Regions from separate parts of the Homo sapiens genome. Here region 2 is linked to region 1. Evidence: promoter capture Hi-C in 16 types of primary human blood cells and fetal thymus (Javierre and others, 2016). All regions are on one chromosome and are shown on one strand. The core of a region is centred on a gene start or on the middle of the fragment in contact, and the rest is flanking DNA. Distances in the headings are between cores, read along the strand shown. Region 1 holds the start of NDUFAB1 (NADH:ubiquinone oxidoreductase subunit AB1). Region 2 overlaps GGA2 (golgi associated, gamma adaptin ear containing, ARF binding protein 2).

Region 1 (4,342 bases), core at 552-3,051:
ACCTGCCTCAGCCTCCCAAAATGCTGGGATTACAGGTTTGACCCACCATGCCTGGCCCCCAGACACTCGAGTTTTAAAGGAATGCTATAATAAATAGAAATTATTTTACAACAGTGGGATGAAACTATGTTTTTTTTGTTTTCGTTTTTTTTTTTTGAGATGGAGTCTTGCTCTTTTGCCAGCCTGGAGTGCAGTGGCGCAATCTCGGCTCACTGCAACCTCTGCCTCCCAAGTTCAAGCGATTCTCCTGCCTCAGCCTCCTGAGTATCTGGGACTACAGGCGCGCACCACCACACCCAACTAATTTTTGTATTTTTAGTAGAAATGGGGTTTCACCATGTTGACCAGGATTGTCTCGATCTCTTGACCTCGTGATCCACCCACCTTGGCCTCCCAAAGTGCTGGGATTACAGGTATGAGCCACCGCGCCTGGCAGCATACCATTACATTTTATTTTACTTGGATTTAACAAAAATAAAAAGAAATTGAGGTAAAACTGGTGACATTATTGGATCATTCATTCAGGCAGATTTCAGAATTTGGAGTCATTATCCCGTGTGTTTCCATTTCAGTCAATATCCTTTAGCTCCCTGCTTAGAAATAGGAATTAGCCTTCTTAAACTCCTCCCTCGCTTACCTATTTTTGTTAGCTATTGTAAGGAACATGGCTGTGCTTTGGTCAAGGATAGGCCAAGGTAAGATGTTTACATCCTGCGTGACTCAGCAAGTTTAGACAGAGGCGTATAACTCCACTTGTTATCACAGCCATGTAGGCATAACATGGGAAGGTCATCACTTGGCTCTAAGCCACTATTTTCTGTAAAAGGTATAATTGCCCTGCTGATACTGTACAGGCGTTCGTGCCCAGAGAAAGAGAGAGCCAGAGCTGTCAGTCTTTGCAGACAGACAGGGGGAGCCAGATCACAGCTGAGAGAGAGTTAAGCTGCTGACCCTGAAGGCAAGGGAGAGCCAGCCTCGCAGTTGTGTGGGGGAGCCATGGGACTAAGCAGCTGAGACAAGGCAGACAGTGTGAGAGAACTAGTGTAAGTAAGCTGCTGATGAGAGCTGCTGCTGAATAAAATCATCTTTCACCTGCCTACCGTCCCCTGAGTGTTCTTTCAGCTATCTGTTCATCCACCCACTCCCCTCAGACCTCGATATGGGCTGGAACCTGGCTGTGGGCATGACAGTTGGCATAGTCGTGGACCTGACAGCTATATTATACACTGTCAAGTTTTAAAACATGTATATTGTTTTAATCGTAATTCTCACATTTATTAGTCTTAGGTATTGAAATTGATTATTTTTTCACATTATTATATATATTTTTTTACCTATTCAATAAATGTTAATACTTGTGGAAGAATTGTGGAATCAAAACTTTGTCCTTTTTTTCTTTTAATCTTTTTTGTAATAGAGACGGAGTCTTGCCGTGTTGGCCAGGTTGGTCTTGAACTCCTGAGCTCAAACAGTCCTGCCACCTTGGCCTCCCAAAGTGCTAGGATTAAAGGCGTCAGCCACCGCACCCGGCCCCAAACGTTTAAACAGATGTATTTCAGAACTTTCAGATAAAAAATGAAAGTAGGTTTCTCGTGCCGTGTCGTTTAGGGAAAGACGGCGACGTCTGCACAGTTTAGTTGTGACACCAAGCAGTTGTTCGTCCCCGAACCTGGATGGGCTCCGAGGGCGCAGTGCCTCCAGGAGCCGCCAGGGGCCGCCACCGCCGGCGGTGCCCGACAGCGCTGCCGTGTGCGTCGCCTGCGCGCCGCCGGAAAGGAACCCTGGTCCGGAGGCGGCGGCGCAGTGCATCCTGGGTTGGCGTAGCCATGGCGTCTCGTGTCCTTTCAGCCTATGTCAGCCGCCTGCCCGCGGCCTTTGCGCCGCTGCCCCGGGTCCGGATGCTGGCCGTGGCCCGGCCTCTCAGCACCGCTCTCTGCTCCGCGGGGACCCAGACGAGGCTCGGGACTTTGCAGCCGGCCTTAGTGCTCGCGCAGGTGACTCGTGGTGACTTTGCTGCCGCTTGGCAAGGGTCAGGGATTGGGCCCGGTGGGGGTGGGGGCCGGGCATCCGGGGCGCGCCAGCTGCAGGCAGGGGTGACCCGGGGGGCAGCCGGCTCGCTCCGCAGCCCCGCTGCCTAAAGGTGTTTAGTTGACCCCTGACGGGAGGCCGGGTGACCTCGTAATAACGAGCAAGAGCACTGACTCGAGTCCAGCACTGCTGGGCTGCCGCTTACCGAAACTTTGGACAAGTCTCCTAGCCTGGCTCACACTCACCTGCAAAATTGGGATCCTGGTCTCTACCTTGCGGAGTAGCAATGAGGATTAGATGAGTTAATGCGGCTAGAGCACCTCGTACGGTCTCAAAATAGCGGTCACCGTATTGTAGTGAAAGCAGCATGCAAAGAGGCAGCCACACTGGCCTACAGCCTTCTCCAGAGCGGTTTTCTCTCTGCAGTTCTGTCCTTACTCTTCCCTGCAGCACCTTCTGCCTGTGTCCAGGACTCCTGGAAGTAATTCTAGGAAACAAGCCAAGTGACCTTTGACCAATAAGGATTTGAATTGCGCGGGTCCACTTATATGCGGATTTTTTTTCAACCAAACGCGACCAGTATTTACGGGATGTGCCGCCCCGCGTATAAGGAGGGCAGGCTCTTCCTATAAGCGGATTCTGCAAGGCTGACTGCGGGACGTGAGTGTGCGGGGATTTGGGTATAGTCGGGGGTCCTGGAACCAATCTGCGCAAATACCAAGGAACGACTGTACCTGTAGTATATAGCTTGAGCTGATGAAATCTGCGTGAGGCTGAAACGCCGGGAGGCAGTGATTTCGGTGTTGTTGTTGTTGTTTTTGAGACAGAGTCTCGCTCTGTCACCCAGGCTGTAATGCAGTGGCGTGATCTCAGCTCACTGCAACCTCCGGCTAACGGCAACCTCCGCCTCTCAGGTTCAAGCAATTCTCCTCCCTCAGCCCCCCCGAGTATTTGGGACTACAGGCGCCCGCCACCATGCCCGGCTAAGTTTTGTATTTTTAGTGGAGACGGGGTTTCATCATATTGGCCAGGTTGGTCTTGAACTCCCGACCTCGCAATCCACCCGCCTCGGCCTCCCAAAGTGCTGGGATTACAGGCGTGAACCACCGCGCCCTGCCTTTTTTTTGTTGTTTTCTAAGTTCTCCAGATGACTCTGAAGTGCAGTTGGGAATAAAAATAACCGTCTTAAGGTAGGATAGACTCCCAAGGTCAAGTTATGAAACCCCTTTTCAAAGTCATAGACTTCAGGTAATAGTGGTTTCAACCTTGACTGCATGTTAGTGTGAAAAATAAGTGTGTCTGGCCAGGCGTGGTGGCTCACGCCTGTAATCCCAGCACTTTGGGAGGCCGAGGCGGGCGAATCGCTTGAGCCCAGGAGTTTGAGACCCTCCTAGGCAACATGGTGGAACCCCGTCTCTACAAAAAATACAGAAATTAGGCCGGGCGCGGTGGCTTATGCCTGTAATCCCAGCACTTTGGGATGCCGAGGCGGGCGGATCACGAGGTCAGGCGATCGAGACCATTCTGGCTAACACAGTGAAACCCCGTCTCTACTAAACATACAAAAAATTATCCGGGCGTGGTGGCACGCGCCTGTAGTCCCAGCTACTCAGGAGGCTGAGGTGGGAGGATCGATTGAACCCAGGAGGCAGAGGTTTTAGGGAGCTGAGATGATGCCACTGCACTCCAGTCTGGGAGGCAGACCGTCTTAAATAAGCCAGCCAGCCCGTGCCAGATCGACAGAATCTAGAAGTGAGTACTAGGCGACTATTTTTAGAAGTCATCAAGTGTTTCTTTTGTGAAGCCAGTGTTGCTGTTCACTGACAGTGTAATGGATTCATTCATTGGGCACTGCCCTGTTGGCTGTATCAAAAGGTGAAAAGTGTCACCTTGAAATTAAGGGTTAAAGGCCAGGCGCGATGGCTCACGCCTGTAATCCCAGCAGTTTGGGAGGCCGAGACGGGCGGATCACGAGGTCAGGAGATGGAGACCATCCTGGCTAACACGGTGAAACCCCGTCTCTACTAAAAATACAAAATAATTAGCCGGGCGTGGTGGCGGGCGCCTGTAGTCCCAGCTACTCGGGAGGCTGAGGCAGGAGAATGGCATGAACCCGGGAGGCAGAGCTTTCAGTGAGCCGAGATCGTGCCACTGCACTCCAGCCTGGGCGACAGAGCCAGACTCCATCTCAATAAATAAATAAATAAATAAATAAATAAATAAATAAATAAATAAATAAGGGTTAAAAAGGCAGTAGTTAGAATTGATGAGTGTCTGGTTCCTAAGATTGATTTCAACATTGGGCTAAAATGTG
Region 2 (4,342 bases), core at 1,011-3,510, 120 kb after region 1:
GGTGTGAAAAGCTGCGGCCCACGCTGTTCCGGTTGGCGAGTGACACCACTGATGACGATGATGCACTCGGTAAGTTTTCTTTCCTTGGGTGTAGCTAGCAGCCCAGGTGCAAGACAGACTCGGTCCCTCCTGTCACACTGCTGTGCCAGGAACAAGACAGAGTGGACTTTCGGTTCCGTGGAGCTTGGGCTTGGGGAGGGTGTGGCCTGAGTTGCCTCAGAACTGACTTCCAGCAGGATCCAGGCTTCAGTAAGAAATCAGCAGCAGGTCTAAAGCCTGAAAAGAAGTGGAAATTGACCATGGAGATTGGGGTGTGAGAGGTAGAAGAAAGATCCCACTGGAGGCTTCAGGAAAAGCTGACCAATCGCAGGGGCCAGAGAAACAGCTGTGGGTGGTGTCTCAAGGGGATCACGGGCTTTTGTACCTTCAGGGGCCAGGTAGGTCAACTAAGAGGGCCAGGCCGATGGGAAATGGAAGGTACATCTGTAAGGAAGTGGAGAATTGTCCACAGTTACTAAAAAAGAATTTTAACTCTTTATTGTGGAAAATCTCGAAACATGAGAGAGGGGAATAGTAAAACCTATATATTCTTCACTCATCTTTAATAATTACCAGCTCATAGCTGATTTTTTTAATCTTACTTCATCTGTACCTCTCTTTGTACACACCCATTCCCTAGTCTGTTTTGAAGCAAATTCTAGACATTTCTTTTTCTTTTAATTATTTTGGAGATGGAGTCTCGCTCTGTCGTCCAGGTTAGAGTGCAGTTGTGCAGTCTTGGCTCACTGCAACCTCTACCTCCCTGGTTCAAGCCATTCTCCTTCCTCAGCCTCCCAAGTAGCTGGGATTATAGGCACCCACCATCACGCCTGGCTAATTTTGTATTTTTGTAAGATGACATTTCACCATTTTGGCCAGGCTGGTTTCAAACTTCTGGCCTCTAGTGATCCGTCTGCCTCGGCTTCCCAAAGTGCTGGGATTACAGGCGTGAGCCACGATCCCCGGCCTCTGGACATTTCAGAATAATCAAAGATTCAGTCAGTGTTCAGATTGCCCTGATAAAATTTCTCCTTAATCATCTCTTGCTAACTTAAAAAAAAAAAATTGTTCTAAATCAGACATAAAAGAAAAGCCATATAATTGGTTTATATTTCTTCTGTCTCTCTTAGTGGATAGCATGTGCATGCCCTCTGCAATCCTTTTTCCTTTTTTTTGAGACAGTCTCACTCTGTTGCTCAGGCTGGAGTCCAGTGGCGTGCTCAGCTCACTGTAGCCTCTACAGCCTTTACATCCTGTGTTCAAGCGATTCTCATGCCTCAGCCTCCTGAGTAGCTGGGACTACAGTTGCGCACCACCACACCTGGCTAATTTTTGTACTTTTAGTAGAGATGGAGTTTTGCCATGTTGGCCAGGCTGGTCTCAAACTCCTGGGCTCAAGTGATTTGCCCGCCTTGGCTTCCCAAAGTGCTGGGATTACAGGCGTGAACCACCACACACAGCCTTTTTTCCTTGCATGAAAATAGGCCCTCTGAATTGACAGTTCTCTCGGTCTCAGTTTTGCTCGTGGCATCCCCCATGATGCTGCTCATGTTCTGTTTCTGATATTTCTTTTTTTCTTGAGATGGAGTTTCGCTCTTGCTGCCCCGGCTGGAGTGCAATGGTGCGATCTCAGCTCGCTGCAACCTCCGTCTCCTGGGTTTAAGCAATTCTCCCACCTCAGCCTCCCGAATAGCTGGGATTACAGGCACCTGCCACGGCTGATTTTTTGTATTTTTAGTAGAAACTGGGTTTCACCATTTTGACCAGGATAGTCTCGAACTCCTGACCTCAGGTGATCCACCCGCCTCGGCCTCCCAAAATGCTGGGATTATAGGCATGAGCCACTGCACAGAGCCAGCAGCTTCAGATTCTGAGTTAAAGTTAAAAGTTTGTTATTGAAAGGGCCTTAATTTGAGTGCTTACTGCTGGCCATTACTCTGGACAGTACAGGTGTAGAAGGTGAACAGATTTGCTTCCTTCTGCATTGAGAACTACTAACATGTTAGGACTCAGGTTAACTGACTAGGCCTGATAGGGTCCGATGACACAACCTGGAGGCAGGAGGTGTGGATAAACTGAACATAGTCTAGCCATATGAAGGCTGTTTTATGGAAAAGCTTAGAAAAGACTGAGATTGTTGGTTGCCAAACCAGGGGGTTCTGAGTCTTCCCTCATTCTTCAGCGGAAATTCTCCAGGCAAATGACCTCCTCACCCAAGGAGTTCTGCTGTACAAACAGGTGATGGAGGGCCGGGTCACCTTTGGAAACAGAGTGACCAGCTCATTGGGAGACATCCCTGTCTCCAGAGGTATGTTTGAAAGCTTCTCCTTGCCTTCTCTGCCTTGGGGCAGCCTGTAATTCCCAGAAAAGAAATGGGTCCTAAACATATTCTGGGTTAAGGAATAGAAATGAGAGAACTCGCCCTTTGTTCCCCTTCCTGTGAAAGTGGATATGTTGCCACACCCAGCCATAGGAATTGTCATGAGCTGGTTGCCGGGCTGGACCCCAGCTTTGACTACACACAAAAGCAGATGGCTAAGCTGTGCCTGCGTTTGAATTCTCATAAATGCTTGCATACAGGAGCTAGAGACAAAAGAAATGATCTTCCTTAGTGGTTCCTAGTGCCAGGTCAGCTGTATCAGAATCACCTGGAGCACTGGTTGAAATGCGGTCCCTGGCTTGGACCTTCTGAATCAAGACTGCTTGGAGCTGGGCCTGGAGGTGTGCGTCTTTCAAGCACTGTGGGTGATTCTAATCAGCTGTGGTCAGAAGCCTCAGAATGGCCTGAGCTGGAGAAGGCCGAATCTGCTTTCCTCCAGAGTGATGGGATCTTTGCAGGAGGGCCTATGATCCCTGGGGTAGGAAGGCAGGCCTTGGCTCCCTCTTGTCTTGGATGCCAGCTGAGCTTGTGTGTCAGGACACTCAGCTGAGTGGAAGGTTCTTGGAAGGGCAGGGAGGGCGTTACCATTTGATTAGGAGGTGGTCTGAGGGAAGCTGATAGGATTTATGTGGAGACTTTGCTCTCATGTCCAACTGACTTCTCTTCCTAACCCTGGGCTTTCTAGTCTTTCAGAATCCAGCAGGCTGCATGAAGACCTGCCCCCTGATTGACTTGGAGGTGGACAATGGACCTGCGCAGATGGGGACTGTGGTGCCATCTTTGCTTCATCAGGACCTGGCAGCCTTGGGTGAGGGCAGGTGCTTGTGGGGAGCAGGCACAGGATGGGTGCGAGTAGGGGAGTGAGCTGGTTCCCTTCGCGGAGCACATGCCTGCTGCTGAGGGAGTCGAGATGGTTGTGAATAGGAAGAGTGAGCTGGTTCCCTCTGGGAGCACGTGCTTGCTGCTGAGGGAGTCAGGATGGGTGTGAGTAGGGGAGTGAGCTGGTCCCCTTGGGAAGCACGTGTCTGCTGCTGAGCAAGTCAGGGAGAGTGTGAGTAGGGGAGTGAGCTGGACCCTCGGAGAACACGTGTCTGCTGCTGAGGGAGCACATACCTGCTGCTGAGGGAATCAGGGTGGTTGTGAGTAGGAGAGTGAGCTGGACCCTCAGGGAGCACATGCCTGCTGCTGAGGGAATCGGGATGGGTGTGAGTAGGGGAGTGAGCTGGTTCCCTCTGGGAGCAAGTGCCTGCTGCTGAGAGAATCAGCAGGGTTCTGAGTAGGGGAGTGAGCTGGTCTCCTCAGGAAGCACATGCCTGCTGCTGAGGGAATCAGGGTGGTTTTGAGTAGGGGAGTGAGCTGGTCCCCTCAGGAAGCACATACCTGCTGCTGAGGCAATCAGGGTGGTTGTGAGTAGGAGAGTGAGCTGGTTCCCTTGGGGAGCACATACCTGCTGCCAAGGGAATCAGGTGTTCTGGGCAGTTCAGAGGGTCCCCCTTGCATATTAGTCACAGATTGGCCATGGACGAGTCACATGACCTTCAGTAAGTTGCTTATTTGTCTAGACTTTCTGGATGTCCTAGAAAGGATGGGTGTGGCATTACTCTTCATCTGGAAGCAGGTGGAGTTACTGTTAGGCATCTCACTCTACTCCTTTCTTACAGGAATCAGTGATGCTCCTGTTACAGGCATGGTAAGGATGCCCTTCCCAGGGCCCGGAGAGAGAATGGGAGGGTCTCAGACCTGCCCTTGTGAGGCAGCACTGCCTGGCGAGCAGAGAGGTGCTCCTGCACTGTCCCGGTGGGATCATGGCCTTGGAGGTCCAAAGCCTCTTCCTCACCCATACTGTCTGGCTGATACCTGGGGGAGACAGGTTGCACCAGGCTCCTGCTTCCTGGAGGTCTGCCCAGGAGCTGCATGTGATCT

The links. Contacts are between HindIII fragments. The CHiCAGO score rates a contact against its expected background, and 5 or more counts as called.
Region 2: a contact is called between a fragment that was not itself captured here and the fragment with the promoter of NDUFAB1 in region 1, in 1 of 17 cell types (erythroblasts). The highest score is 5.8, in erythroblasts.

Annotation. Positions count from the first base shown.
Region 1 is chr16:23,593,775-23,598,116 of GRCh38, reverse strand. It overlaps NDUFAB1 (NADH:ubiquinone oxidoreductase subunit AB1), which reads left to right and starts at 1,801. Exons shown (of 5, transcript NM_005003.3): 1 at 1,801-1,994. The coding sequence starts at 1,827. RefSeq lists silencers at 2,054-2,143, 3,889-4,065. The HindIII fragment of the contact is 11,223 bases long and covers 1-4,342 here.
Region 2 is chr16:23,478,650-23,482,991 of GRCh38, reverse strand. It overlaps GGA2 (golgi associated, gamma adaptin ear containing, ARF binding protein 2), which reads left to right. Exons shown (of 17, transcript NM_015044.4): 9 at 1-69; 10 at 2,222-2,347; 11 at 3,105-3,227; 12 at 4,081-4,109. Among named protein-coding and RNA genes, the nearest start is that of COG7, 28 kb to the right of the region's middle. The HindIII fragment of the contact is 204 bases long and covers 2,159-2,362 here.